Linked DNA regions of Homo sapiens: regions 1, 2 and 4 are each linked to region 3. Evidence: promoter capture Hi-C in human tissues and cell types (Jung and others, 2019). All regions are on one chromosome and are shown on one strand. Each heading gives the region's core, a stretch centred on a gene start or on the middle of the fragment in contact. The rest is flanking DNA. Distances are from core to core; before and after follow the strand shown.

What was found. Contacts are between HindIII fragments. The study calls those that stand out against the background at their distance.
Region 1: a contact is called between a fragment that was not itself captured here and the fragment with the promoter of FAM221A in region 3, in 2 of the 25 tissues and cell types used here (dorsolateral prefrontal cortex and spleen).
Region 2: a contact is called between a fragment that was not itself captured here and the fragment with the promoter of FAM221A in region 3, in 1 of the 25 tissues and cell types used here (thymus).
Region 4: a contact is called between a fragment that was not itself captured here and the fragment with the promoter of FAM221A in region 3, in 5 of the 25 tissues and cell types used here (aorta, bladder, hippocampus and 2 more).

The regions. Positions count from the first base shown.
Region 1 is chr7:23,524,259-23,527,418 of GRCh38, forward strand. All of the region lies in intron 1 of TRA2A (transformer 2 alpha homolog), which reads right to left. Among named protein-coding and RNA genes, the nearest start is that of TRA2A, 6.1 kb to the right of the region's middle. The HindIII fragment of the contact is 5,751 bases long and covers 1-3,160 here.
Region 2 is chr7:23,432,178-23,435,499 of GRCh38, forward strand. All of the region lies in intron 2 of IGF2BP3 (insulin like growth factor 2 mRNA binding protein 3), which reads right to left. Among named protein-coding and RNA genes, the nearest start is that of IGF2BP3, 37 kb to the right of the region's middle. RefSeq lists an enhancer at 3,139-3,322. The HindIII fragment of the contact is 3,324 bases long and covers 1-3,191 here.
Region 3 is chr7:23,678,903-23,682,087 of GRCh38, forward strand. FAM221A (family with sequence similarity 221 member A) reads left to right here and starts at 1,297. Exons shown (of 7, transcript NM_199136.5): 1 at 1,297-1,381. The coding sequence starts at 1,317. RefSeq lists a silencer at 1,231-1,520 and an enhancer at 1,851-2,100. The HindIII fragment of the contact is 14,044 bases long and covers 1-3,185 here.
Region 4 is chr7:23,545,728-23,549,135 of GRCh38, forward strand. No RefSeq gene overlaps it. Among named protein-coding and RNA genes, the nearest start is that of TRA2A, 15 kb to the left of the region's middle. The HindIII fragment of the contact is 8,662 bases long and covers 1-3,408 here.

The sequences.
Region 1 (3,160 bases), core at 446-2,945, 150 kb before region 3:
CTGCAACCTCCACCTCCTGGGTTCAAGTGATTCTCCTGCCTCAGCCTCCTGAGCAGCTGGGATTACAGGCATGCACCACCTTGCCTGGCTAATTTTTGTATTTTTAATAGAGATGGGGTTTTCCCATGTTGGCCAGGCTGGTCTCAAACTCCTGACCTCTAGTGATCTGCCCGCCTCAGCCTCCCAAAGTGCTGGGATTACAGGTGTGAGCCACCGCGCCCGGCCAACATCAGATTTATTTTAAAAGAAGCTTTGCTTTTTATTATCAAAGGTGTCACAAATACCTAACCTCCTTTGTTGTCTGCCCTTCTTTCTTTTTATCTCAGAGGAAATCTCAGTCTGCACAAATTTCTTCATGGAAACATCTAAGCTAAAAACAGTCCTCTTAGCTGTCTCTAACTCCTAGCTACAAAGTTGTCACTATGATTTTAACTATTTTTTTTTTTTTTGAGATGGAGTCTTGCTCTGTAGCTCAGGCTGGAGTACAGTGGCACCTGATCTCAGCTCACTGCAACCTCCGCCTCCCGGATTCAAGCGATTCTCCTGCCTTAGCCTCCTGAGTAGCTCAGCTTACAGGTGCACGCCATCACACCCAGCTAATTTTTGTGTTTTTAGTAGAGATAGGGTTTCCCTATGTTGGCCAGGCTGGTCTCCATCTCCTGACTCCTTGATCTGCCCGCCTTGGCCTCCCAAAGCGCTGGGATTACAGGTGTGAGCCACCACACCCAGCTTCATTTTAACTTTCAAAAACAACTTACAAACTTATATTAACAAATCAGTAACTATTAGTAAACTTAACTGGAAGAATAAACTGCCAAGTATATAATTATTTAGAAATAAAGTAACATTTCTCAAAAGCTGTTACCAAATAAATGTCACTTTCACTGAACTCTGCATTAGGAATCAGGCTATAAGAAGTCCTTTATATAAAGAGGACAAATGCTAGGCTAATCCTTTTCTCTCTGACTCGTCTTCATTATGAAATAATTTCAACTTTTTCTCAAAGAAATTCATAAAACTATCCACAATTTGGAAAATGAATTGAAATTGCAAACAAAAAAGATTGCTGGGAATGGGTGGTATCTGCCCTGTTTCACTAGACTACTTGTTCTTAAAGCTGTCCAGTCAAGGAATCCTACCATTTCCTCAGTAATCTGGCTCCTGCATCCAATAACCATTAAAAATACACTGCCCGGTTTAAATGGGCAGATTAATAACTCAACTCGTATCATGAATTTTAACAAAAGTCTTAAATAGGCCTCCAGTCTATCTTATAGGCTATAAAGCAGAAGCCAGGCAGAAAAGTTCTTCTCACAGCACAACCTGCTTTAACAGGTTTTTGTTTTGATGTTTATTTGCTTGTTTGGTTTTTCTGTCACCCAGGCTGGAGTGCAGTGGCACAATCTTCTCATTGCAACCTCCAACTCCTGGGTTCAAGCAATTCTGCCTCAGCTTCCTGGGTAGCTGGGATTACAGGCACCCGCCATCGCACCTGGCTAACTTTTGTATTTTATTTTAGTAGAGACGGGGTTTCACCACATTGGCCAGGCTGGCCTCGAACTCCTGACCTCAAGTGATCCACCCGCCTCAGCCTCGCAAAGTGCTGGGATTACAGGCATGAGCCACTGCACCCGGCCTGCTTGTTTAAACTATTCTTTATTATCAAGATGACCCTGCTGTTGGTTGAAGGAAATGGCCAAAAATTAAAAGGAGGGAACTAACTAAAACACTAAGAAAGTGTTATAGTGTAACCAATACAAGCTGGTTAAGAATTGTCTTTCTGTGTTAAAATAGAGTTGTATTTTACACACTGTGAATAACCACAATAACCATGTACTATTCTTTTAATCAGGAAAAGGGTTATTATATACATGTACACAATGTTGCGGAACATGAACAATTCCTACAGCAAGCAATAACTGCAGTCTTTTAATATAGCCTGTGTCATACTATAAAAAGAAATTCCAACACAATATATATATGTGCTATCCATTAAAATAAATAAACTATTAAATGCTATACTGTAACTTACTCTAACATTAAGGCCAGGCAAATTCTATGCCATTTAATAGGGCCAAATTTACTCAAGTCCAAGTCTATGAGTATAAGCTTGTAAAACAGACTTACTAAAAATGTATTTTCCTGCTACTTTATGACACTGGCGCTCTATTTCCATAGATACACACTAGTGCATTGAGGAAAATCACAAGTACCCAAAAAGAAGGGAAATGTACCGAAATTATTCAAATACCTTACAATATTCATTTTACTACTTACTAAAGAACTTCTTTAGGAGTTGTAAAAAACCTGTATTTACTCAACCTCAGCCTATAGAAAGAACAACAGTTCTGCTTCCTTCCCCTTGAGTATGGGAGAATACTCTTACAGACCCCTATGAAGTTAAAGCAACACTTCCATTATCTTCTTAAACCGTAACTGCTATTAGAACAAATCCCTTAAAAAGAAGATAGCGACTGCTCATATTAAATTGAAATAATAATTTCCCTTCTTTTAAATGCAGCATGCCTATATGCTGCATTCTGAAGTCAATGTGGTCTTTATCTGCAAAGACTCAAACATATTCTAATTCTGTATGTTTCCTTATTCTCTAAAATTTAGAAGTCTTATCATAAATACATGATTTAGTAACTGACACCCACATATAATCAAATTTAAACTCATGCCATAATTGTGAAATCACCTGTAAAATTTATAATCTTTTGTACAAATTTTAAACGTGGTTCATAAGTCTCATAGCTTATATATCCTGATCAATTGTAATGTTCAAAAAACTAATGTATAAGTGGCAATTTCAAAGGTAGAAAAAACAAGTTTGTAAGGACTAATGTGATTTAACATTATGTTCTAATCTTCTGGAGTTATACAGTATTTATGAATCTTGGTAAGTCAGATGATAGGGTCCTGGTTTCAAGGAAAGATCACAACTTTTCTTCTACATATCAGTCAGGCCTAGTCACTCCATCTTTGGTGAAAGTCATGGGACAGTAAGGATTATATATAACTATATATATAAGTAACTTAAAAGGAGGGAAGGGAAACCATATTTCCCTTTAGTATTCTCCTCTCAACTTTTCTTCAGTGTATACAATCTTTCCCTCATCTAGTTGTTACTATTTTTTTCACCTCCATGCCTGTCTTG
Region 2 (3,322 bases), core at 280-2,779, 250 kb before region 3:
GAGTCTGACAGCCAGACGTGCATGGATGAAAACTTGACTGACGCCATGAGTATGCACTAGAAGAGTCCAAAAAAGACTGAATGTTTTTCTACGTACTCTCTTACTACTATTGTTTGCTTGCATTTACACACTGCTATGTCTTTCTTTTAGAAGATTAAATGTTCCTTGAAGAAACATAGTCAAAGTTTTTATACTTCCTTAGGACATGTGCAAGTTAGGAAAACCTAACACTGTTCGAAAGACAATTGATACAGGCACACATCATCACACTGGGCCTTTGTTTTACTTCTTAATGTGACTACTAGAAGGGCACGCACATCTTAATGTAGAATGTCAAACAGGAAAAAAACAAACAAACAAAAAAAACAGGGCACAAACTAATCCTTGATCCCTAAATAACCAAAGATTTTTATAGTCTTCATACTGAGATTTTAACTAAGTAAATGTGCTTCATTTTTTAATTTTTTTTTTTTTTTGGTGGAGAGAGGGTCTTGCTCTGTTGCTCAGACTGGAGTGCAAACGGCATGATCTCTGCCCATTGCAGCCTCAACCTCCGAGGTTCATGAGATCCTCCTGCCTCAGCCCCTCAAGTAGCTGGGACTACAGGCATGCGCTACCGCACCCAGCTAATTTTTGTATTTTTCATAAGCTGTGGTTTCACCACGTTGCCCAGACTGGTCCTGGGCTCAAGCAATCCACTTGCCTCGGCCTACCAAACTGCTAGGATTACAGGCATGAGCCACTGCGCCCAGCCTGTATATGTGCCTTTAAACTAAAAAGTCACCACCAGTATTACAACCACAGAAACACACGCAGTTGAACAGTTACTATTTAAATAAAAGCCTCACTGCCTGTATGACCTAAAAGCATAGCTCTTTCAAAAGTCTTAATATTAACACAATATAGTAAATTGTACTTATCTTCCTAAAAAATTAGAGTGGTAAGAAAGGAATAAAGAACTTGGATATAAAACCTCTAACATGCTTGAGTAGCACTGAAAATTAATTATTCCCATACTTTTCCATAGCTAAAACTAGTTTTATAAATATCATTATATTTTTTTCCCAGCAACAAGATATTTTTAAACAGTGATTTTTAGAAACCGTACATCTTAAGCTGCTCTGTCCAATAAAGAAGCCACTAGCCACATGTGTCTAACTACTTGAAATGTGGCTAGTCTGAATTGAATCGTTCTGTAAGGATAAAATACATACAGATGTTGAAGATTCAATACCAAAAAAAGCAAAATTTCTCAACAATTTATTATACTGTTACATTTTAGATATATTAGGTTGTATATAATAACTAATTTTTTTTTTTTTTTTGAGACAGGGTTTTTGCTCTCTCGCCCAAACTGTAGTGGCACGACCATAGCTCACTGCAGCCTCAACCTCTTGGGCTCAAGCAATTCTCCCACCTCAGCCTCCCAGTCAGCTAGGATACAGGCACACATCACCACACTGGGCCTTTGTTTTACTTAATGTGGCTACTAAAAAGTTAAAATCATATATATTTAGTTCATGTATTTCTATTGAACAGAGCTTATCTAAAACTAATTGATTAAATTTAATTTGTTTGTCAAGGGAATTTGAAGAACAATCAAGAAAAAGTTTTAGGCCGGGCACAGTGGCTTATGCCTATAAACCCAGCACTTTGGGAGGCCGAGGCGGGAGGATCATCTGAGATCAAGAGTTCAAGACCAGTCTGGCCAACATGGCGAAAGCCCATCTCTGCTAAAAATACAAAAATTAGCCGGGCATCACGGAGGCGTGTGCCTGTAATCCCAGCTACTTGGGAGGCTGGGGCAAGAGAATCGCTTAAACCTGGAAGGCAGAGGTTACAGTGAGACAAGATTGTGCCACTGCACTCCAGCCTGGGAGACAGAGTGAGACTCTGTCTGGAAAAATTAAAATTAAAAAAAAAAAAAAAAAGAAAAAGTTTTATATGGAATACGTATTTTCCACATAAAAGTAACCATCACTAAAACTGTACCTGCAAGAAGAGGTGTTTTAAGATTACTAAACTTTTAAAACCACTGTATTTTGAATACGGGGTATGTCTACATTAACAGTTTTTATTTCGTATTACTGCTAAGTGGATGTGGTTCTTAGACAAGGCAGATCCTTGGGTTTGTTTTTGTTCGTGGGAAAGTTGCAGTTGATCATTATCAAATTATACCACCTTCTCATCAACTTTAGAAACTATAATAATCTCACCACCCCAAAGCTTGAAGACTGTTTCCCAGAGGTAGACTTACACAGCCAGACTTGTTTATATTTCCATTTTTAATGTTTTCTACAAGTAGGCAAAGAAAATAAGCAAATAATTGTGTTCAAGAAACTCAGTATGAGAATTCTCAGTTTCACGCACTCTGAGAACTCCAATGTATCAACAAAACAAAAGGTTGACAAGTTTGATCTAAATATTTCTGCCTGACATTCCTCATCCTAGGTAACTCAACTCTTTCTTTTCTCCCAAGATATAATTTCACTAGGCTTTGTAGATAACCCTTCTCCTAGCAGAAAACACAATGCAAATGCAATGCTACGTTACCAGTCTCCAATAGCAGCAAATTGTTCCTGATTACTAAGCTCTTTTTCCTTCTAGTGAGATAGAACAGGTATGTTTACCACACTTAAGGACAAACAAGTTAAAAAAAAACTTTCACTTAAGTGCAACATGCTTCCCCAACTACATCAGTATTTTCCCAAATTTGAACTCAGTCACATTAATCCATCATTTCCTTGAATGAATAAAACCTTGGCCAAAGTATTAAAATTTTCCCTTTTCTCACCTATGACATATTTGCCAATTAAACACAAAAATCCTGAAAATGGGCCAGGCGTGGTGGCTCCTGCCTGTAATCCTAGCACTTTGAGAGGCCGAGGCAGGTGGATCACGAGGTCAGGAGATGAGACCATCCTGGCTAACATGGTGAAACCCCATCTCTACTAAAAGTACAAAAATTAGCCAGGTGTGGTGGCGGGTACGTGTAGTCCCAGCTACTCAGGAGGCTGAGGCAGGAGAATCGCTTGAACCCGGGAGGCGGAGGTTGCAGTGAACAAAGATCGCACCATTGCACTCCAGCCCAGGCGACAGAGCAAGACTCTGTCTCAAAAAAAAAAAAAAAAAAAAAAAAAAAAATCCTGAAAATGATGAAGTCTCTAGCCCTATCATGTCTTCTGAGAACAGAATTACATATAAAAATACACCACAGAAACACTGTCAGCAACATCCAGACCTGGGAAACTCTCCAGCACAAACATCTAAAGTTTTTTTTTTTTTCTTTTCTTTGAGACGGAGTCTCGCTCTGTCGCCCAGG
Region 3 (3,185 bases), core at 47-2,546:
AAAAATACACACACACACACACACACAAAAGCCAGGCGTGGTGGCTAGTGCCTGTAATCCCAGCTACTCAGGAGGCTGAGGCAGGAGAATTGCTTGAACCTAGGAGGCAGAGATTGCAGTGAGTCGAGATCCCGCCACTGCACTCCAGCCTTGGAGACGGAGCAAGACCCCATCTGGGAGGTGTCGGGTGGAAGAGGTAAAATGGACAGCAGCAAACCACACGTGTGATAGGAGAGAATACTGAGCTGAGATCAGTTTCCTAAAATATGAATCCGATTTCAGGATCACTCATTTATCTGACTGTCAAGAACGCCTCTGAACAGGAGGAAGACTTTGGGGAGAGGGTGGGGTTTGTTGAAAGGGTACCGAGAAGGGAGGTGGGTGGTACCCAAACAATTTGTTTACATAATGTTTTATGGACCTGAAATATGTAGAACAGTACTTTGAAACTAAAGTACTGTACTGAAGTTTAATTATTTTTCTTATTGTTTGCATATTCTCCCTCCCAGATACTTTACAGAGGGCGCTAAAGCTGATCCCCTGGGAGCTTCAGAGTTTAATGACTTCGCCTGAAGATTTCCTATTCTTTTCCACAACGTGCTAAGTCAAATTATGGCCAAATTACCAATCGCATGGTAATTCAGCTTCTAAATATATTTTGCAGAGTGTTTCCAAAAGTTAAAAAACAACAACAAAACTTCACCTAAATTGTTTTTACTTGCTTCACCTTAAATCAGTTATTCGGTTCCTTTGAAGAACATGTAGCTTTAGCAACCCCCAAAGTGAACCCAGATACCCAGGACTACTGATTGTTACATCAGAGTTTTTGAAAACGCCAATACTGGAAACAGGCCGACAGTTAAGGAGAGGCAGGCCTCAAACTAAAGCAGAACCTTCTCAAAACTACTTATATTTCAAGAGATGGATTAAGCGAAAAGAGCTGTACAAAGAAATAAGCCATTTTCTATGCGCCTGTTATATGCAAGGCACTGCACTCCCTTGTCACTTGTTAATTTACAAGAAGACTCGCCGGTCCAGGGAAGGGAGAGGGGAATAGGTGCAAGGTTTGTGGAGGGCGGCAAACTGCACTCCATGTGGCGCGAGGCTGCGCTTGCGGAGATCCGGGTTCTGGTGCCTGGCGCCGGCAGCCAGTAGGGGCGCGCGTCCTGCGCAGTTGCCGCGCGCGGCCTCCTCGGGCTTCAGGCCGGGCCAATCAGGAGGCGGGCGGGAGGGGGCGCGGTACCGGGAGGGAACGGGGCGGGTCGGGCTTCGAGGTCAGCTGGTCCGCAGGGAAGCCTTTGGCTTCCCCACCGGCAATGGAGCGGTTGACGTTGCCTCTCGGCGGCGCGGCGGCGGTGGACGAGTACCTGGAGTACCGGAGGTGAGGCTGTGGCTCCGGGCCTGCCCCCCCGCCGCTCCGAGGGGCCAGGATCCCTGGGCTGGGGGCGCGAGCAGGGGCCCGGCGGGCGTCCGCGGGGGTTCCCGGAATCTGTGCCTGGGCTGTTGGGGGAGGCCTAGATGAATTCCAGTTTAGTCTTTGCCTAATTAAATATTGTAGGGCCACGCGGTTCTATGCAGTGATGAGTCTTCCAATAACATTTAAGAGGCCCCTCTGCTCCCTTCCAAGAAGGATGACTAACTCTAGATTGATACAGAGGTCCAGCTGTTTTTTAAATGGCCATTGAAAACAGGCACATCGAGTACTCGGGGCTATAGAAGTTAGCATACATCAAATTAACCCAGTAATTGAGTCAACCGTGAACTTCTGAACGCGCTCCCCACCCCGAGGTGCTGGTTTTAGGAGAAAGGCACCGACTGGTGTTTGGTATTCTGGAGAAACCCCTTCCGAAACTGGAAACGGAGTCGCTCCTTTGGCCTGAGGACGCGGTTCATTGTCCTGGATCCTGACCGAGGCTGGTGCACCTGCAGCGACGCGCTCTTTTTCCGCTTCCTGGGGTTTTTGATCGTCCGGAATCTGGGCGGATGGGAAGTCCTGGAGAGGACCGCCTGAGGACGCGGAGTTGGGGCGGGAGGATGTGTGTGTACAAGCGGAGGGGAGACGCTCCAGGCTCCGCCAGGGAGGCCGGAGCGAGCGACAGGGGCTCCTCTGCGGCATCGTGGGTGGCCCAGATGACCCAGAGGTGTGCGCGCAGACGGCCCCCCAGCTGACTGTTCTCCCCTGCTCTGACTGCCCTGTTTGTGTAGTTTTGGGTAACCCTTAGAACTGCCTGGATATTCTGAGCCAGAAGAATAAGGGCTAGGAGCTTGATGGGGTCAGTTCCCACGCCCGGTTCAGGGTCAGAACAACCACCATCCCGTCCTCTCCCAGAGCAGAGCCGGCTCCTTTAGCCTCCAGTTCTCCAGAGCTTTTGCCTGGGAGCAAGTTGCTGGAGCTGGTGTTGACTGATAACTTGGATATTTAGATATGTGAATTGTGGGCCTCCAGTTGACTCTTGCCTAGCTCCGAACATGTTAGGGCAGACCTATGTATGTAGTTATTTATTTTATTGAGAAATTATTTAGTTATTTATTTTATTGAGACGGGGTCTGACTCTTTCCCAGGCTGGAGTGCAGTGGCGCGATCTCGGCTCACCGCAATCTCCGCTTCCTGGGTTCAAGTGATTCTCCTGCCTCAGCCTCCCGAGTAGCTGGGACTACAGGCGGCCAGCTAATTTTTGTATTTTCTGTAGAGACGGGATTTCACCACGTTGCCCAGGCTGGTCTTGAACTCCTGGACTCAAGCTATCCACCTGCCTCGGCCTCCTAAAGTGTTGGGATTACAGGCCTGGGCCACCGCGCCCGGCTGGGAAATTATTTTTGCAATCGTAAATAACTTGCAACACTTCCCTCTGAAAGAGATTATCAGGTCCTTTACTGACGTCAGAATTTTAGAAAAGTGGGGAAAACAGGACTTGAGTACCTAGATATGAAAAGGTGGGCTGGGAAGGTGGGGTGGGAAGATGAGTCAAAATATGAGTTTAGAAGGAAACAAACTTTCCTTCCGAAGAGTTTTCCTGGATTTGCTCTTGCCTAGGTACTTCGGTGGGAGTCGGTTGGGAGGGGAAGCATGCAGCCTTGTTACTCACACTGTGGGAGGCCCTGACCAGTGTCCTGGCATCACCTGTTAGCTTGTTAGAAAAGCAGAATCTCAGGCCCACTGCAGACCTATTATTATTATTATTATT
Region 4 (3,408 bases), core at 626-3,125, 130 kb before region 3:
GACAACCAATCCATCAATCAACTGCATAGTATTTATACTATGAAAATCAACAAATCTACAAATTAGTGTTCTTTTCCTCTTTCTTTCAGAAAGCTAGTTGTTAAACATTTAACTCTTGTGTATTCATGGGATATACCTTAAGCAATCTATGTATGTGTGTGTATGTATATATATGTATGTATATATGTACACATATATAAAATGTTGCTTTGCACATTTAAACATTTTATATACCTGGTTTACTATAGTATGTTTTCTGATATAACTTTCCCTCCACAGCATTTAGGTTATGAGATGCATTCATGTTGATATGTGTAACTCTGGATTACTGTTTTTTTGTTTTGTTTTGTTTTGTTTTTGAGACAGAGTCTCACTCTGTTGCCCAGGCTGGAGTGCAGTGGCATGATCTCAGTTCATTGCAGCCTCTGCCTCCCAGATTCAAGTGATCTTCCCACCTCAGCCTCCTGAGTGGCTGGGACTATAGGCCTGCACCACCATGCCTGGCTAATTTTTGTATTTTTAGTAGAGAAGCAGTTTCGCCATGTTGGCCAGGCTGGTCTGGAACTCCTGACCTCAGGTGATCCGCCCGCCTTGGCCTCTCAAAGTGCTAGGACTACAGGTATGAGCCAAGGTGTTGGCTGGTTCATTCATTTTTACTGTTCTGCCCTACACGGCAAGAATGTAAGCTCCATGAAGGCAAAGATTTTTATTGGTTTTATTTTCTGCTATATTCCTAGGATTTGGAACAGTGCCTGGCACAAAGCAGGCTCATATTTATTTGAAAAAACAGGCCCAGGACAGTGGCTCACACCTGTAATCCCAGCACTTTGGGAGGCCGAGGTGGGCGGATCACTTGAGGTCAGGGGTTTGAGACCAGCCTGGCCAACATGGGGAAACCCCATCTCTAATAAAAATACAAAAATTAGCTGGGTGTGGTGGCTCACACCTGTAATCCCAGATGCTTGGGAGGCTGAGGCAGGAGAATCACCTGAACCTCGGAGGTGGGGGTTGCAGTGAGCAGAAATTGTGCCACTGCACGCCAACCTGGGCAACAGAGTGACACTCCGTCTCAAAATAAAAAAAGAAAGAAAGAAAGAAAAAGAAATGAATGGTGTGCCTGAAATTCTACCTTTGCCACTTATTTAATTTAAAATATTGCTAGGTTATTTTTCTTTTTGTTTCTGTTTTTGGTTTTTATTTTTTTGCTGTCCCTTGCGGAGCAGGGCTACCCCATACGCGGTGTGCGCGGAGTAGCCTATGTTGCTGTTTGGTAGCTTAGTAGATCTTACTACACTGAACCACTTGGGTTTTCAAACCTTGTCAAGGAATTTATTTTGCATATCATTTGTAACCAGAAGAGGGCAAGCTTGGAGAGAAAAAGAAATTGGTGAGAAACGGAAACAAGTCCTAAATGCAGGACGCTGCCTGTTTTGAATGTCTACAGCCACCAGGTGGCAGTATGAGCATGCTGGAAATTTAAGGTCGGTGATCCAGGCTACAGAGGTCTCCAGATGCAGATGGGTGCCCCAAACTTACACATTTTCCACTTTATTTCTCCTTTTGGCCAACTTGTCATTTTTTAACATCATTATTATGCAGATTTATATAAGTTGATACTTTCTATTTTCCCTTACATTTGACAATACTAAATTTAAAATATTGGCGCATAACAGATAATAAAAATCACAAGGCAGGGGGCAGTGGCTCACGCCTGTAATCCCAGCACCTTGGAAGCCTGAGAGAGGAGAATCGCTTGAGCCCTGGAGCCTGGGCAACATGGGGAGACCTTGTCTCAAAAAAAAAAAAATCTACGCGTGGTGGTGAGCACCTATGGTCCCAGCTACTTGGGAGGCTGAGGTGGGAGGATCACTTGAGCTCAGGAGGTCGAGGCTGCAGTGAGCTGTGCCACTGCATTCCAGCCTGGGCGAGAGCGAGACCATGTCTCAAAAAAACAAAAAACAAAAACAAAACAAAACAACAAACAAAAAGACAAAAAGCAAAACAAAACAAAAAACTCATATAACATACAAATCACTTTTAAGCCTGTCTGCTTCCTTGCTTTCTGCCTGCTTGCTTGCTTCCTTTTCTTTCTTTCTCTCTCTCTCTTTCTCTCTTTCTTTCTTTCTTTCTTTTCTTTGTCTTTCCCTCCTTCCCTCCCTTCCTTCCTCCCTCCCTCCCTCCTTTCCTTCCTTCCTTCCTTCCTTCTTGCCTTTTCTTTTCTTTTCTTTCTTTTTTGACATGATCTGACTCCATCACCCAGGCTGGAGTACAGTGGCACGATCTCGGCTCACCGCAACCTCCGCCTCCTGGGTTCAAGCAATCCTCCCACCTCAGCCTCCTGATTATCTGGGACTACAGGTGTGTGCTACCATGCCTGGCTAATTTTTGTATTTTCTGTAGTGATGGGGCCTTGCCATGTTGCCAAGGCTGGTCTCCAACTCCTGAGCCCAAGCAATCTGCCTGCCTTGGCCTCCCAAACTGCTGGGATTGCAGGCTGGAGTCACTGTGCCAGCCCTTAAACCATTTTAAAGTGTAAAAATCAGTGGGTTACCTTAAACCATTTTAAAGTGTAAAATACAGTGCGTTTTAGTATAATATATTCACAATGTTGTGCTACCATCACCATGACCTAATTCTGGAATATTTACATTAAACCAAAAGGAAACCTTATACCCATTCAGTCACTTGCCAGCCTCCCCCCATCTTCTGACAAGTACTAATCTACTTAATGTCTCTATGGATTGCCTGTTCTGGGGATTTCAGGTAAATGGAATCATACAATATAGCAACATTTTTTTTTTTTTTTTGAAACAGAGTCTTGTTCTGTTGCCCAGGCTGGAGTGCACTGGTGCAATCTCAGCTCACTGCAACCTCTGCCTCCTGGGTTCAAGCGATTCTCCTGCTTCAGCCTCCAGAGTAGCTGGGATTACAGGTGCCTGCCACCATGCCTGGCTAATTTTTGTATTTTTAGTAAAGACTGGGTTTCACCATGTTAGCCAGGCTGGTCTTGAACTCCTTAACTTAGGTGATCCACCCATCTCAGCCTCCCAAAGTGCTGGGATTACAGGCATGAGCCACTGCACCCGGCCAGCAGCACATATTTTTAATCGCAATATTTATCTATGGCATCATACAGATGGACACTGGAGACAGATGGGGGACGTTGAAGGCACGTGAGGGATGAAAAACTATCTGTTCGGTACAATGTACACTATTCAGGTGACCTGTGCACTAAACATCTAGACTTCACCATTCCACAATTAATCCATGTAACCAGAAACCACTTGTACCCCTAAAGCTATTGAAATTAAAAAATGTTATAAAGGACTTATCTATGGCATCGAAATAAGGCTATGTTTTTAGGAATTTCATCTAAAATATCAAAGTTATATACAAGGTGGAAAAATA